Regions from separate parts of the Homo sapiens genome. Here region 2 is linked to region 1. Evidence: promoter capture Hi-C in human tissues and cell types (Jung and others, 2019). All regions are on one chromosome and are shown on one strand. The core of a region is centred on a gene start or on the middle of the fragment in contact, and the rest is flanking DNA. Distances in the headings are between cores, read along the strand shown. Region 1 holds the start of BRCA1 (BRCA1 DNA repair associated). Region 2 overlaps BRCA1 (BRCA1 DNA repair associated).

What was found. The method cuts DNA at HindIII sites, captures the fragments that hold promoters and counts their contacts. A contact is called where the count stands out against the background at its distance.
Region 2: a contact is called between a fragment that was not itself captured here and the fragment with the promoter of BRCA1 in region 1, in 1 of the 25 tissues and cell types used here (aorta).

What each region holds. Positions count from the first base shown.
Region 1 is chr17:43,124,114-43,127,824 of GRCh38, forward strand. It overlaps BRCA1 (BRCA1 DNA repair associated), which reads right to left and starts at 1,251. Exons shown (of 23, transcript NM_007294.4): 1 at 1,158-1,251; 2 at 1-2. NBR2 (neighbor of BRCA1 lncRNA 2) reads left to right here and starts at 1,444. Exons shown (of 8, transcript NR_138145.1): 1 at 1,444-1,657. RefSeq lists silencers at 547-582, 2,606-2,623, promoters at 1,236-2,992, 1,236-1,502, cis regulatory regions at 1,303-1,325, 1,487-1,495, 2,172-2,201, 2,552-2,581 and enhancers at 1,303-1,325, 1,432-1,561, 1,458-1,482, 1,612-1,701, 2,630-3,443. The HindIII fragment of the contact is 12,987 bases long and covers 1-3,711 here.
Region 2 is chr17:43,084,853-43,088,222 of GRCh38, forward strand. The region is part of intron 11 of BRCA1 (BRCA1 DNA repair associated); the gene reads right to left. Among named protein-coding and RNA genes, the nearest start is that of BRCA1, 39 kb to the right of the region's middle. The HindIII fragment of the contact is 3,426 bases long and covers 1-3,017 here.

The DNA of each region.
Region 1 (3,711 bases), core at 1-2,500:
AACTTTAACACATTAGAAAAACATATATATATATCTTTTTAAAAGGTTTATAAAATGACAACTTCATTTTATCATTTTAAAATAAAGTAAATTTAAGATTTGGAAGGTTTTAGAATAATACAAACCAAAGAACTAATGACAACGTCCTTTATTTTTAAAGATTCTAGAAGTTGCTTTTTGTAATTAGACAACATAAATTCTGAATTTTTTCACATATTGCTGCCAACCCCTTGGGTCTTTTCCTTTCTCCAAGAAAGAGAAAGCTACAGAGGAGTGACTGACCGGGTAGGTGGTGGTAGCCTTAGCTTTCTCCAATGTTTCTGGTTGTTTTCTTTTTCTTGCATAAAACCAAAATCAACAACGACCAAACCAACACCAATCAAGGCCTCCCCGCCCCTAACCTTTCCCAGTGACCTGCTCTCATCTCTGGATCCTCCTCAAGCACATCCCTGCCGGCAGCATCTGTTACTACTGACGCTCCTCTACTTCCCTCTTGCGCTTTCTCAATGGCGCAAATGGATCCAGTTCTTAAGTTCTCCCTCCCACAAAATCCTGTCTCCTCCCCTTCCCAGACATATTCCTGGCACCTCTTCTTCCACAAGGTCCCATCCTCTCATACATACCAGCCGGTGTTTTTTGTTTTGTTTTGTTTTGTTTTGTTTTGAGACAGTCTCGCTCTGTCGCCCAGGCTGGAGTGCAATGGCGCGATCTCGGCTCACTGCAACCTCCGCCTCCCGGGTTCTAGCGATTCTCCTGCCTCAGCCTCCTGAGTAGCTGGAGCGGCACCACGCCCGGCTAATTTTTGTATTTTTAGTAGAGACGGAGTTTCACCACGTTGGTCAGGCTGGTCTGGAACTCCTGACCTCATGACCAGCCGACGTTTTTAAAGACATAGTGTCCCCCTCAAGGCATATTCCAGTTCCTATCACGAGGATTCCCCCACGGACACTCAGTGCCCCCTTCCTGATCCTCAGCGCTTCCCTCGCGACCTACAAACTGCCCCCCTCCCCAGGGTTCACAACGCCTTACGCCTCTCAGGTTCCGCCCCTACCCCCCGTCAAAGAATACCCATCTGTCAGCTTCGGAAATCCACTCTCCCACGCCAGTACCCCAGAGCATCACTTGGGCCCCCTGTCCCTTTCCCGGGACTCTACTACCTTTACCCAGAGCAGAGGGTGAAGGCCTCCTGAGCGCAGGGGCCCAGTTATCTGAGAAACCCCACAGCCTGTCCCCCGTCCAGGAAGTCTCAGCGAGCTCACGCCGCGCAGTCGCAGTTTTAATTTATCTGTAATTCCCGCGCTTTTCCGTTGCCACGGAAACCAAGGGGCTACCGCTAAGCAGCAGCCTCTCAGAATACGAAATCAAGGTACAATCAGAGGATGGGAGGGACAGAAAGAGCCAAGCGTCTCTCGGGGCTCTGGATTGGCCACCCAGTCTGCCCCCGGATGACGTAAAAGGAAAGAGACGGAAGAGGAAGAATTCTACCTGAGTTTGCCATAAAGTGCCTGCCCTCTAGCCTCTACTCTTCCAGTTGCGGCTTATTGCATCACAGTAATTGCTGTACGAAGGTCAGAATCGCTACCTATTGTCCAAAGCAGTCGTAAGAAGAGGTCCCAATCCCCCACTCTTTCCGCCCTAATGGAGGTCTCCAGTTTCGGTAAATATAAGTAATAAGGATTGTTGGGGGGGTGGAGGGAAATAATTATTTCCAGCATGCGTTGCGGAATGAAAGGTCTTCGCCACAGTGTTCCTTAGAAACTGTAGTCTTATGGAGAGGAACATCCAATACCAGAGCGGGCACAATTCTCACGGAAATCCAGTGGATAGATTGGAGACCTGTGCGCGCTTGTACTTGTCAACAGTTATGGACTGGAGTGTTATGTTTTCGTATTTTGAAAGCAGAAACTAGGCCTTAAAAAGATACGTACAACTCTTTAGGGAGACTACAATTCCCATCCAGCCCCAGGAGTCTGGGGCAAGTAGTCTTGTAAGGTCAGTGGCCTGCGGGGACGCAGTGAGCGCCGAATTTGCCTGGGGCAGGGGAAATGCGCTCTGGCCCATGTCTGCGCACTCGTAGTTCCACCCCTCAGCCCCAGTGTTTGTTATTTTTCGGGTTCAGCTTGCTTTTGCCCCGTCTCCGTCGACGCAATCGCCACCAGTCAATGGGGTGGTCGTTTTGAGGGACAAGTGGTAAGAGCCAATCTTCTTGGCGAAAACGCGGAGAAACGGGACTAGTTACTGTCTTTGTCCGCCATGTTAGATTCACCCCACAGAGATAGCGGCAGAGCTGGCAGCGGACGGTCTTTGCATTGCCGCCTCCCCAGGGGGCGGGAAGCTGGTAAGGAAGCAGCCTGGGTTAGCTAGGGGTGGGGTCACGTCACACTAAGAGGGTTTGGAGAAGTTCAAGGGAGGAATCCTGCAAAGAAGAGGGGCGACTTTTTCCGTGTCTCCGGACAGCTAATCGTTTTAGTGACAGGATGAGAGAGCCCTTCGTGTTCTGAGGGACCGAGTGGGCGAAAAGCGCCGGAGAGTTGGAGAGTCTGTGGTTCAGAATGCGAGGTGACAACGTGCTAGCAGCCCTCGCTCGCTCTCGGCGCCTCCTCGGCCTTGGCGTCCATTCTGGCCGTGCTGGAGGAGCCCTTCAGCCCGCCACTGCGCTGTGGGGGCCCCTCTCTGGGCTGGCCGAAGCCAGAGCCGGCTCCCTCTGCTTGCGGGGAAGTGTGGAGGGAGAGGCGGGTGTGGGAACTGGGGCTGCGCGCAGCGCTCGCCAGCCAGCGCGAGTTCCAGGTGGGCGCGGGCTCAGCGGGCCCCGCACCCCCGGCCCCGGGCAGTCAGGGGCCTAGCACCCGGGCCAGCAGCTGCAGAGGGTGCGCCGGGTCCCCCAGCACTGCCGGCCCGCCTGCACCCCGCTTGAATTCTCACCGGGCCCCAGCCGCCCTGCACAGGGCAAGGCTCAGGACCTGCAGCCCGCCATGCCCGAGCCCCCTCCCAACCCCTGTGAGCTCCAGCGTGGCCTGAGCCTCCCCGACGGGCACCGCCCCCTGCTCCTCAGCGCCCGGTCCCATCGACTGCCCAAGGGCTGAGAGGAGTGCAGGCGCCCGGCACAGCCCTGCGCAGGATCCACTAGGTGAAGCCAGCTGGGCTCCTGAGTCAGATGGGGACTTGGAAAACTTTTATGTCTAGCCTGAGGATTTTATATGCACCAGTCAGCACTCTGTGTCTAGCTTGGGGTTTGGGGATGCACCAATCAGCACTCTGTATCTAGCTAATCTGGTGGGCACTTGGAGAACTTCTGTGTCTAGCTAAAGGATTGTAAATGCACCAATCAGTGCTCTGTGTCTAGCTCAAGGTTTGCAAATGCACCAATCAGCACTCTGTGTCTAGCTAAAGGTTTGTAAACGCACCAATCAGTGCTCTGTGTCTAGCAAATGTAGTGGGGACTTGGAGAATTTTTATGTCTAGCTAGAGGATTGTAAATGCACCAATCAGCACTCTGTGTATATCTAGCTCAGGGATTGTAAATGCACCAATCAGCACCCTGTCAAAACGGACCAATTAGCTCTCTGTAAAATGGACCAATCAACAGGATGTGGGTGGGGTCAGATAAGGGAATAAAAGCAGGCTGCCCCGCTGGGTGCCAGTGGCTCACACCTGTAATCCCAGCAATTTGGGAGGCCTAGAGGGGTGGATCACGAGGTCAAGAGATCGAGA
Region 2 (3,370 bases), core at 55-2,554, 39 kb before region 1:
AAAATGCTTCACAGGCTGTATTAGTCACTACTGTCACAACCATCACATCTAACCTCTACGTGGCCATTACATAAATCAGAAAAAGTAGTGGGGTAATTATTAATAGATAACTTTCCTTTGGGTTTCCCAAAGGAATTATTTTTTATAACTTAGACAAATTCCCCAGCAGGTAAGTGGCCAAATACATTAGGGAGAATAAAACCAATAGGTTTCTAAGACTTCTTGATTCTAATTCTGAAGTGCTCCTTCAATTAGCTCTAGCCTTCTACTTCTACTATGCTGCTCTGATCTCTACTTTTAATACAGCTACATTACTGTAGAAGTTCCCTAAAAGCCTTGTTTATCATGTCTTTTTCTTCCATAAAGACCCTTAGTGCTCCATCCTGGCCATCACAGTGAAACACTGGCTGAGGCAGAAGAATCACTTGAACCCAGGTGGCGGAAGTGCAGTGAGCTGAGATCGTGCCACGGCACTCCAGCCTGGGCAACAGAGCAAAACTCTGTCTCAAAAAAAAAAAGAAAAGAAAAAAACCCTTAGTGGTATACCACTGCTGATTTATACTTTTTGAACACTATATAATTGTTAGTCATTACTGCCATTAGGATAAAATTCCTCAACATAGCATTCAAAAGGCCCTTTATACCCTGGTATTATCTCTCATTTCTCCCAACACCCCTCACACAAGTTGTTTTCCTATAACACATGACAACTTTACGTTTCCTGGGAATTCCATGACTCTGTACCTTTACCTTACTTGCTGCCACTCCTCTTTTTCCACTTGGAAAAATTCTCATCTTTCAAGGCCTAGTTTGAATGTCTCCTTAAGTCCCCACCAGGAGGAGTTGTGAAATATGAGAAGTAAGGGCAAGTGGGCAGAATGTGGCTAATTCTAATAAGACTCCTGAAATGTGCAGCAGAGCAGCCGGAACTGGTCTGGAGGGAAGCAGAGTGTATATCTGACCCTTGTTTGTTCACATTCATTACATATAAATATATATATAAAACCTTCCCATAAAACATGTGTATTTAATGAGTTAAAACTATTTCTAATGTTCCTACTACTACATAATAAGCCTAATCCAGATACAAGCTGAAGTCTTAGCACAAATAGTGGCTTTATCATGCTAGTTTTGTCGACATGTTGTGAATATTTTCAAATATACAGAAAACTTGAAGCAACTTTGCAATGAGTGTTTATATATCTACTACTTAGAATCTATAATTAACATTTCCTATATTTATTTTATCACATACATACACACACACACACACACACACACACACACACACACACAGAAGTCCCCACCAATAATCCATCTCCTATCGGGAACAGATGATCTCTCACTACTTGATTTACATTGCTAATGCATTAGTATACCCAAATGGAACACATGACCTTGATAGGAGGAAGCTTCCCTTAATCATATTTGTCTCCCTAATGCCTAGCAGACAGTAAGCACTCAGCAAGTGTTTATTAATGAGAAGATAAATTAATAAATAAGTATAGTTAATCAGTCTTCTGTAAAAACAAACAAAAACCCAGATATCAATGATACCAAATTAGGAATTCTCTATCATCTATATACTTTTTCTCGGTTCAGTACAAAAAGGGAAAAAAAAATCCCACTTCAATAGTTTTTCCTGCCTGTGCTACTTTAGACGTAAGACAGCCTGAAATCTGACTTCAACGGTTTTGGGTAGATGCTTAGTAAAAACACGTTGCAAAATGAATCCTGAACAAATAGACACATCTCTGGGAATAAGATTAGAAATACAGAAAAACAAGGACATTGTATATTGAATGTCAAATATAATACAGTATGGCTAAGGCAGATGTAATCAGAAATTGCAACCTTAAACTTTAAAACACAATGGACAGAATTAGATGATGGGTATATTGACAGAGTCCCAAACCCACATTCAAAAAGGATCATAGGAATTGCAAAGAGAGAAAAGGCCTCCTAAATCTTTTCATCAATTTAGTTGCCATGGCAATCCTGAAGAAGTGGAGAATACTGGTGACAGCTCAGATACAGAGTGGGGAGTCATCTCAAAGGTTTCTTGACAACTCCAAGGGGCTTCAGGTCTAGAGGGATTTGCTCTGTACAGAGAATGGGCAGTAGAAGATAAGCCTTCTCTAATTGTAGTTCTCATAGCAATGCAAGATTTAGATTTTAAAACTGGATATCACCCAGTGTTGGCAAGGTACAGGAAAATGGGAACTATCATATACCACAGGGGCTGGAAGAGCATAAACTGGTTTAATCTTTCTAAAAAACAATTTAGTAACATGTATCAAACACCAAAATCCTAGTCCCAGTAATTTAGACTAAGGAAATAATCAGGGATGTAGGCAAATATTTAGCTATCAGGATGCCACTATAGTGATGTACATAATAGCAAACTGTGCCTCTTACCCTGAAACCTCCAACATTCAGCAATAGGTCAAATAAATCATGATACACTGGAAAGATAGAATCCCATATAGTAATTAAAAATGAAGTCACTTAAGAATTTTAACGACCCAGGCTGAGTGCGGTGGCTCACGCCTGTAACCCCAGCACTTTGGGAGGCCGAGGTGGGTGGATCACTTGAGGCCAGGAGTTTGAGACCAGCCTGGTCAACATGGAGAAACCCTGTCTCTACTAAAAATACAAAGTTAGCTGGGCATGGTGGCACATGCCTGTAATCCCAGCTACTCGGGAGGCTGAGGCAGGAGAATCGCATGAACCCGGGAGGCAGAGGATGCGGTGAGCCAAGGTCACACCACTGCACTCCAGCCTGGGCAACAAGAGTGAAACTCCATCTCAGAAAAAAAAAAAAAAAAAGAAAAAAGAATTTTAATGATCCAGTAAAAGCTAGATTATAATGCACAGAATTATCTGGATTTCTTGTTTTTGAGACAGGGTCTCACCATATCACCCAGGATGGAGTGCAGTGGCACCATCATGGCTCACCACGGCCTCAACTTGCTGGGATCAAGCAATCCTACCCCAGCCACTCAAGTAGCTGAGACTACAGGTGTGCACCACTAAGCCTCACTAATTTTTTTTTTTTTCCCAGACAGGGGTTGCCCAGAACAGAGTGCAGTAGCGTGATCACAACTCACTGCAGCCTTGACCTCCGGGGCTCAGGCAATCTTCCTGCCTCACCCTCCCAAAGTGCTGGGATTACAGGTGTAAGCCACTGTGCCTAGCTTCCTGGATATATTTTAAAGATAAAGTATATACAAGCACCCCTGTGCACACACAGGAATACTAAAAGAATATACACCAATAAATTGCTAACCATTTCTGGATAACACAAATTACAATTAACTTATCATTTTAATCATTTTAAGTGTACAGTTCAGTGGCATTATTTTCACAC